Regions from separate parts of the Homo sapiens genome. Here region 2 is linked to region 1. Evidence: promoter capture Hi-C in human tissues and cell types (Jung and others, 2019). All regions are on one chromosome and are shown on one strand. Each heading gives the region's core, a stretch centred on a gene start or on the middle of the fragment in contact. The rest is flanking DNA. Distances are from core to core; before and after follow the strand shown. Region 1 holds the start of PICK1 (protein interacting with PRKCA 1). Region 2 holds the start of PDXP (pyridoxal phosphatase).

Region 1 (4,559 bases), core at 685-3,184:
ATTCTCCTGCCTCAGTCTCCTGAGTAGCTGGGATTACAGGTGCATACCACCATGCCTGGCTAATTTTTGCATTTTTAGTAGAGACGGGGTTTCACCATGTTGGCCAGGCTGGTCCAGATATATGATCTAGATCTTATACCAACTCCTGATCTCATGATCCACACTCCTCAGCCTCCCAAAGTGCTGGGATTACAGGCGTGAGCCACCGCGCCCAGCCTCTCCTTTTAATCTTGACTTTCACAAATACCTGGTGGCAGGTGTCATTTCCCCATTCTACACGTACCTGAGGCTCAGAGTGAGACAGCGACTCACCCAAGATCTCCCAGCTACAAAATGGCAGAGCCTGGGCCTGAGCTAGCATGGTCATGGGCTGGAAGAGCCACAATCCATGTTAAGGCACCTGGGTTTGGAGACTGCTGCCTTTTTTTTTTTTGAAACGGAGTCTCTCTCTGTCGCCCAGGCTGGAGTGCAATGGCCTGATCTCGGCTCACTACAACCTCCCTCTCCTATTTTCAAGCGATTCTCCTGCCTCAGGCTCCCAAATAGCTGGAATTACAGGTGTGCGCCACCGCACCTGGCCTTAGACTGCTGCTTTTTGAAACCAAAATTCTGGCCTGGAAACAGAGCTTGGTTTTCCCAGCCCCAGCCCTGCCGCTATGATACCAGAGGAAGAGGCTTCCCAGGGCCTCCGTTTCCTTGCCTGCACAATGTGGCTGGCAAGATTTGGTCTTCTCTCACAGGGTGGTGGTGAGCTTTCAAATCCTGTGAAAGTGATCTCACAGGAGAGCAGTGGACACGTGGGAAGGCTGTTATTGTCACGGCATTCTGCACATCTGTCCGGACTCAATTAGCCACCTAAGGAGAGAGTAGGGCGGGGCTTCCACCGGCCGTGGGATATGTGGATAATCATCCTTCTGTATCTTTCTTCCATGGCTCCTGGGGCAGCTGGGGAAGCAAGCTGGATGGGCCTGGCCCCATGCTGCCGGATGAGGTGGATGCCTGGCTGTGGCTCTGGGAGAGCCAACCTCCCCCAGGGAACCCACTTTACACAATAGCAGTGGCAGCAGAGGCTGGCGAGGAGACAAGATTCGGACTCTGGGGAGCACTGATAGCATTTCCCGAGCCTCAGGTACATGCGGACCGTGACCCTCCCTGGGACCCCAGGGGGGCTGCTCCTCAGGACTAAGGAAGGAGGAGGGGGTGTGAGAAACCTTTCACCATATACCATAGAAAGCATTTACCTCAATGGCCTTGGTTTACATATGGGGAAACTGAGGCACATAAAGGGAAGGGAGCATGTCCAGTCTGTCCTTAATAGCAAGACCCACTGAATACACCTCTCCTGGCTCTCTGTTTAGTGTTTGGACGTTCAAAGATCCCTAGACTAGGCGGCGGGAGTTTCAGGGCCACGATCCAGATCTTACACCAACTGTGTGTGGCCCCGCACAAAATCACTCCCCGCTCTTTGGCACTTAAGTTGGCGAAACTGGGATGGGCTGGGACCTCAAAGGGCCATTCTAGTAGGGGAGTCACAGGCCCAGGTGGTGAAGGGGTGAAAGGGCATGATGTCTTGGGGTTTATAGTCCACTGAGCCTCGCCGGAGGTAACCCCGGCTCAGGGATGCTTTCGTTGCCATGGCAACCGCCGGGCCGGCGCGGGCCCCTGAGTGCAGCTGAGGAAGCTGGGACAAACCCTGCCCTTCCCAAGATGGCGGCGGCGGCAGGGCAAAGGGCGGGGTTAGACGCTGTCAGCCTGTCCAGACCGTTCCTCTGTTTTCGCTTGTTCCTACTAACAGCGAGCTTCCGCCAATACTTGTTCTCGTTCTTGGTTCCGAGCGTCCCGGGAGCCGGGAAGGGAAGGATTGTCTGCAGGGATTGGAGCAAATATCCAGTGGGGGGAAAGCCGGGACTTCCGCGTCTTGCCGGAAGTGACGTGACAATCGCGGCCACCGCCAGGTGGAACGGCAGGTGGGTTCAGGTACCAGCCTGGCCGGGACCCGGCTGTGGGACCAACGCTTCCGGTGAGCGACAGAGGCAGCTCCCCAGGGCCTGGAGACCCGTGGGGCGGACTCTGGGATCTGAGCCTATCGCCCTGGCCTGGAGCCCCCCTTTGTACCTAGTAAGAATCACCTACCCAGCCCCCCACCCGGAGACTGTCCCATCCCACTCCAGAGGGAAGAGGAGGGCACTGCTGTCCCGTATGAGGTGGTGGAGGGAGGGGTGGCGTTGGCATTTAGGCACTTGGGTTCCTTAAATCCTATGCTCCTTTCTCTCCCGGATCCAGTTCCCCATTCCCCTACCGAGCTGGGCAGTTAGCCAGCCCACTCCAACTCTCGGAACCATGTTTGCAGACTTGGATTATGACATCGAAGAGGATAAACTGTGAGTATTTTATTCCCCCAAGTTCCAGCAGTATAGGAGCCCCAAGTTCCTCATTTCCCTGGACTTCCCAGTCCCACAGACCCTTGCTTCTCAGCGGTGGATCAGTTGTTGTACTGAAGCAGCAATGGACCCTGCTCTCCCAGGAGCTCACTATTTGTAGGGGGCTGTGGACAGTTAAAGGGATAATCACAGCTCAGTGCCATAAGGGCACTATTAGCATGACTTGGTGACAAGAAGAGCAAAGCAGATGGAGCAGTGCTTCTGCTGGGATGGTCAAGGAAAGCTTCATGGAGGACGTAGCAATTGAACCAGGTTTTGAAGGTTGAATAGGAATATTGTAGACACCCTTCCTTCCCAACATAGGTTGTTAGTAGGACAGATTTTCCCATTAGAATATATCCTCTTTCAGATCAAGGAGTGGGTGCAATGCCTTTCTCTATGCTCAGCACTTAGTAAGGGACTTGACGTCAGTAGGTTGTTAGCGAATGTTTTTTGAATGAATAAGTGAATCAGCGTGAGTACTTATCATAAAACACCAGTCAATGCTAATTTATAGTGGAAACCGAGAGGTAATCGAGCAGTTGAGAGGTGGGAGGTGGACAGTTTAATAGAGGAAGACTCCCTGGAGTAGGTGGCCATCATACTACATAGATGCCTGATAAGGTGACAAGGACAGAACCTGGCTCAAATCTCAGAGATCGAATAAATGAAAGGGAAGGGGGACCTATTTTTATGGAGTGCCTGCTATGGACTGGGTTGCTGTTAGTGCCCTCCATGCATGGTTAGAAGAACTCTGATAAGGGTGCTCATCCACATTTTATGGATGAGGAAATTGAGATGCACAGAGGCTGACTTACCCAAGTCCCATAGCTGGCCAGGCACGGTGGCTCACGCCTGTAATCCCAGCACTTTGGGAGGCTGAGGCAGGCGGATCAACTGAGGTCAGGAGTTCAAGACCAGCCTGGCCAACATGGTGAAACCCCGTCTCTACTAAAAATACAAAAAAATCAGCCAGGCGTGGTGGCAGGCACCTGTAGTCCCAGCTACTTGGGCGACTGAGGCAGGAGAATCACTTGAACCCGGGAGGCGGAGGTTGCAGTGAGCCGAGATTGCGCCATTGCACTCTAGCCTGGGCAACAAGAGTAAGACTCCATCTCAAAAAAAAACCAAGTTCCACAGCTGATAAATGGCAGAGCTGGGGTTTGATCCCACATCTGCTTAACTCCAAGAGCTGTGCATGTTCCAGCACAAAATGTTGTTTTGTCCAAGGGAGGGAGAGAAAAAGCTGGGCAGCCAGTGGAGCCCCTCAGGAGTTTTAGAGGGCCCACCCGCTCCAGTCATCCTTCTGCCAGGAGAGTCAGCCTAGCTTGCTTTCCTTTCTAGCGGAATCCCGACTGTGCCTGGGAAGGTGACCCTGCAGAAGGATGCTCAGAACCTGATCGGGATCAGCATTGGAGGAGGGGCCCAGTACTGTCCCTGCCTCTATATCGTCCAGGTATTGGGCGCTTTGGAGGGGGGCACAAGGTACATCCCTACTTGGGCATGACAAAGGCAGGTTCATTTCTCCACACTGCATAGCTGACTCCTTCTCATTCTTGAGGTCTGACCCTCTCAGAGGGGCTTTCTGACCACCTGCGCTGCGTTGCTCTGCCCTGTCTTCTCCCCTGTGTCGCTCTGTTTTTTTCCTTCTCGGCACTTATTACTTGTTATTTGCCCTCTGTCTAGTAGAGTAGACTCTTTGCACTGAGGGCAGTGTCCTGGTTTGCTTTTTCACTGCAGTAAGCACCAGGTACAGTGCCTGGCACATAGTGGACATGCAATAGAAATTGACTATTGAATCAACAAAACCATCAGCCTTGCGTACTAGCCAAAATGAAGTGTCATAGGAACACGATGAAATAATGGCCTGAGTTCAAATGCAAGCTTCTTTCCTACTTACTAGCAAGTTACTTAACCTCTTTGGGCCTCAGTTTCATCACCTAGAAAGCGGGGATTTAAAACATGTAGACACAATCATCTCTGGGTTCTTGTGAGAAGTCAACAAAACGACCTAACACACTAGAAGTTAAGAAACGTGCATTGGCCAGGCATAGTGGCTCACACCTGTAATCCCAGCACTTTGGGAGGCCGAGGTGGGTGGATCACGAGGTCAGGAGTTCGAGACCAGCCTGGCCAACA
Region 2 (4,559 bases), core at 867-3,366, 400 kb before region 1:
TCTGCTCTGTGCCAGGCCCTGAGCTAGCTCCAAGACTTAACCCTACACCCAAAGAGTTCCCAAACAGACAGGCAGAAGCAACCATTAGAATCAAGTGTCTGGCCAGGCACGGTGTCTCATGCCTATAATCCCAGCACTGGGAGCCTGAGGCAGGAGGATCACTTGAGCCCAGGAGTTCTAGACCAGCCTGGACAACATAGTGAGACCCTGTCTCTACAAAAAAAAAAATTTTAATTAACTGGGTGTAGTGGCGTGTGCCTGTAGTCTCAGCAACTAGGAAGGCTGAGGCAGGAGGATCGCTTGAGCCCAGGAGTTGGAGGCTTCAGTGAGCAGTGATCATGCCACTGCACTCCAGCCTGGGTGACGGTGTAAGACCCTGTCTCAAAAACAAAAAAAATCAAGTGTCATTGCACTGGGAGCCCATATTAGCCAAGTTAGGGGTGGCCATATAACCTAGACTCATGGTATGGGGTGGGTGGTTAAGAACGGCTTCCTGGAGAAGGTGATATTTAAGGGAAGTCTTTCAGGAGCTGACCTGAAGGTGAATTTTGTTTATTTTTATTTATTTTATTTATTTTTTATTTTTTGTTTATTTTTTTTTGAGATGGAGTCTCGCTCTGTTGCCCAGGCTGGAGTGCATTGGCACGATCTCAGGTCGCTGCAAGCTCCGCCTCCTGGGTTCAAGCAATTCTCCTGCCTCAGCCTCCCGAGTAGCTGGGACTACAGGCACCCGCCACCACGCCTAGCTAATTTTTTTCTTTTTTTTTTTTTTTTTTTTTGTATTTTTAGTAGAGACGGGGTTTCACCGTAGCCAGGATGGTCTCGATCTCCTGACCTCGTGATCCGCCCACCTCAGCCTCCCAAAGTGCTGGGATTACAGGCGTGAGCCACCGAGCCCGGCCCTGAAGGTGAAATTTTTAAAGGAAAAAGGAACATTCAGGCCAAGGAGACTATCTATGCAAAGGCCAGGAGCAAAAGGCTTAGGGCACTTGGGGAATAGGAGCTAGTTGAGCTTCCAAGGTTGGGTACAAGGTACAGTTTTTCCCAAGTCGTTGGAGCTCCAGTTGCTCCTGGGGGTCACAGCCTTATCTGAAGTTGGCAGACAACTTCAAAACTGTGACACCACAGCTCACAATTCATTCATCCCCACACTGCAGACCAGTGGCTCCTCAAAGGTCCCAAGACCTGTGGTTGCTTCCAGATCACAAGGCCTCCTCCCTAAGACAGGGACCCAGCCAACCTGGGTCACCCCATTACTATTCTGGGCAATTGGCCACGACCATTCTGGATCCTGCCCTCCCGGGGCGTGCTGCAGTGACAGCCTACCAGCCTCTAGCCCAGTGCTTCCCTACCCTATCCTAGCTCACGGTAGAATCCCTGGAATTAAACCAACTAACCAACAAACCAAAAAATGCCCAGTCTTCACCCAAAACACTTACATGAGGATCTGTCCTGCTACACATCGGTGATTTCAAAAGCATTTGTCAAGACATTGAACTGTACATTTAAGATCTATGCATTTTACTATATGTAAATGATATCTGAAAATAAGTTCCCAGGGGACTCTAACGCAGTGTGAAGAACTACTGGTCTAGACCGAGGGCTCCAGCACCCAAGAAGACACCATGTGCCTCGTACCCCATCGTACACACACGTTTCTTGGGACTTCGCTCTGAACTGGAGCGTCCACGATTCAGGGGGCAATGAGATTCGACCCAAAGGCAGTTCATTTAACATCTGTTTTTCTCCCAGCAACCAGCTCGCCTAAGCTTCTGATTGGCTGGAGGGCACGGGGCCTTTCGCTTCGCGTTTTGTTTGTAGATTCTTATTGGTTAAGAAGAGCGTCAGTCTCCCACCGCGTAAGAGTGTAGTCGGCGTTGAAACTCGGCGGCGACTGGTCCAGCAGAACCAGGGACGGGGAGAAGGATCAAGCTAGCTCTTCATTGGTCCCTTCCCCTCGGTGTTGGCCACGAATCCGCCCCTCTCTCCAAGTTCCGTTAGCTCGCGGCTTCGCTCCTCTCCCAGACTCTCGCCCCCATTGGCTGCAGGCCACGCCGTCGCCCCGCCCCCCGGTCCTTCCAGCGCGCCAATTGGCGGCTGCGTGGAACGTGCCAGGGAGAGCGCGCCGTGCCCGCGGAGAGAGCGCGGCGCGGGAGGCCGGCGGCCGGCCGGCTGCATGGCGCGCTGCGAGAGGCTGCGCGGAGCGGCCCTGCGCGACGTGCTGGGCCGGGCGCAGGGGGTCCTGTTCGACTGTGACGGGGTGCTGTGGAACGGCGAGCGCGCCGTGCCGGGCGCCCCGGAGCTGCTGGAGCGGCTGGCGCGGGCCGGCAAGGCGGCTCTGTTTGTGAGCAACAACAGCCGGCGCGCGCGGCCCGAGCTGGCCCTGCGCTTCGCGCGCCTCGGCTTCGGGGGGCTGCGCGCCGAGCAGCTCTTCAGCTCCGCGCTGTGCGCCGCGCGCCTGCTGCGCCAGCGCCTGCCCGGGCCTCCGGACGCGCCGGGCGCCGTGTTCGTGCTGGGCGGCGAGGGGCTGCGCGCCGAGCTGCGCGCCGCGGGGCTGCGCCTGGCCGGGGACCCGAGCGCGGGGGACGGCGCGGCCCCGCGCGTGCGCGCCGTGCTTGTGGGCTACGACGAGCACTTCTCCTTCGCCAAGCTGAGGGAGGCGTGCGCGCACCTGCGCGACCCCGAGTGCCTACTCGTGGCCACCGACCGTGACCCATGGCACCCGCTGAGCGACGGCAGCCGGACCCCTGGTGAGCGCGGGAATGGCGGGGAAACTGAGATGGGGGCGACCTGCGCATTCGCCTCCACGCCTAAGGGTGAGGGGCGGGGAAGAGGCGTCTCCAGGTGGCAGGTGGGGAACAGGAGAGTGCGAGGGAGGCCCAGGGTGCTTTGGTGTGGGGGGCGGTTGATCCCTGTAGCCGTCATCCTGTGAGGCGCAGCAGTGTGGTCCCTGTTGGACAGATGAGGAAACTGAGGCCCTTTGTAACTTAGGGAGTTGGGCGGAATTCTGCCCTACCCACCATCGGGGTGGGGTTGGAGAGGAAGCCTGGGAGGATTGTCCCCCTGTGTGAGGGTTGAAACACCATTCCCAGAGGCAGGGTGTAGGCAGGTGTGTGGGGAGCAAAGGCGGTGGAGTTTGACCTCAGTTCCAGGTCCAGCTCCAGCTTCACAGCTGTGTAATCGTGTTCAGTTACATAACCTCCAAGCATCTCTGCCTGGGTGAGAAATGGCAGTGCTCAGCATGCCCGGTGACGGTGATCAGGGTGAGTGCCTGGCACATAGTAGGTGTTCAGATGATGTAAGTTGTAGCCAGAGTCCCCCATGTTACAGAGAACTTAATGAAACAGCTTTGTGTGTGTTCTTCTTTGGTTTCCAAATTACTCTGGAGATGGAAGTTATTGTCCCATTTCTCAAGTAAAGAGACTGAGGCAGCCGGATGCAGTGGCAACAGCCTGTAGTCCCAGCTACTCGAGAGGCTGAGGCGGGAGGATTGCTTGAGCCTAGGAGGTCAAGGCTGTAGCGTGCTATCATTGCATCTGTGAAAAGCCACTGTACTTCAGCATGGGCAACATAGTGAGACCTTATCTCTAAAAGAAGAGGAAAGAAACTGAGACTAAGAGAAGGGAAGTGAGCTGCCCAAGAACAGATATAGTGAGCCCCTCCACCTCCTGTGTCCCCACACACCTGCCTCCATCCTGCCTCTGGGAATTGGTGTTTCAGCCCTCACAAGTAGGGACAGTCCTCGCAGGCTTCCCCTCCAACCCTCCAACCGCACCCCAATGATGGGTGGGGCAGAATTCTGCCAGCAACTCTCTGGCAGAGTGATAGAGCGCGGGAACCTGAATTTGGCCTTTGTGACACCGACCTCCAGGGCAGTCTTCACTGCTGTCATCTTGCGAGTTCAGCCCTGCAGGGGAGGCAGAAGCAAAAGGAGGCTCCTCCATTGTGGAGGGTTTGCGTTAGACAAGAGCAGGTGGCAGCAGAGGCTAATTGGCAGTGGTCAGTGTGTGTGGACAGGTTAATAGCCCAGTCAGTATACTGGGGCCGTGGACAGATCTCTGTCACTCCGTCTCTGTTGGCCACTGACCCGGACAGTCATTGATATTAAATCCTGGGGGTACAGGATGGTATTGAGTGGAGAGAAGTAGACACAGGATTATGGTGGGGTGGTGAGCAGGGCCTAGTGCCAGGGGCACCTAGGAAGACTTCCTGGAGGAGGCATGATGCAGGGCAGTGATAATACACCAGGAGATGTAAACCCAGTGTTATGGCATGGCAGAGAGGGATTCTGTAGTCCTTGGCCTCTCCTGGCTGTGCTGCACACCTGCTTGGTATGTGGGCGGGCTCACCTCAGCCTCAGTTTCCCTATAAGTCTGTGTTGAGGGCTCTCTGGTCAGGGCTGTCAGCGGCAGCAGCTCCTGCCTGCCTTAGGCTATGCTATGAAAAGTTTTTCCCAGGAGGCCTCAAGGCTCAGGTTAAGGCTGTGGGTTAAGAGGTTCCCCAGGGCTCAGGAAGGCTGGTTGTCAAGGAGCTAGGGAGAAACCAGGCCCTGCCCACAC

What was found. The method cuts DNA at HindIII sites, captures the fragments that hold promoters and counts their contacts. A contact is called where the count stands out against the background at its distance.
Region 2: the fragment with the promoter of PDXP here is called in contact with the fragment with the promoter of PICK1 in region 1 in 1 of the 25 tissues and cell types used here (pancreas).

The regions. Positions count from the first base shown.
Region 1 is chr22:38,055,470-38,060,028 of GRCh38, forward strand. It overlaps PICK1 (protein interacting with PRKCA 1), which reads left to right and starts at 1,935. Exons shown (of 13, transcript NM_012407.4): 1 at 1,935-2,118; 2 at 2,284-2,381; 3 at 3,765-3,876. The coding sequence starts at 2,341. RefSeq lists enhancers at 1,387-2,012, 1,709-1,768, 2,013-2,636. The HindIII fragment of the contact is 14,484 bases long and covers 1-3,484 here.
Region 2 is chr22:37,656,607-37,661,165 of GRCh38, forward strand. PDXP (pyridoxal phosphatase) reads left to right here and starts at 2,117. Exons shown (of 2, transcript NM_020315.5): 1 at 2,117-2,750. The coding sequence starts at 2,177. PDXP-DT (PDXP divergent transcript) reads right to left here and starts at 1,771. Exons shown (of 6, transcript NR_109952.1): 1 at 1,649-1,771. RefSeq lists enhancers at 1,674-1,743, 1,754-1,803, 1,992-2,493, 3,320-3,831, 3,832-4,342 and silencers at 1,994-2,303, 2,504-2,613. The HindIII fragment of the contact is 18,911 bases long and covers 1-4,559 here.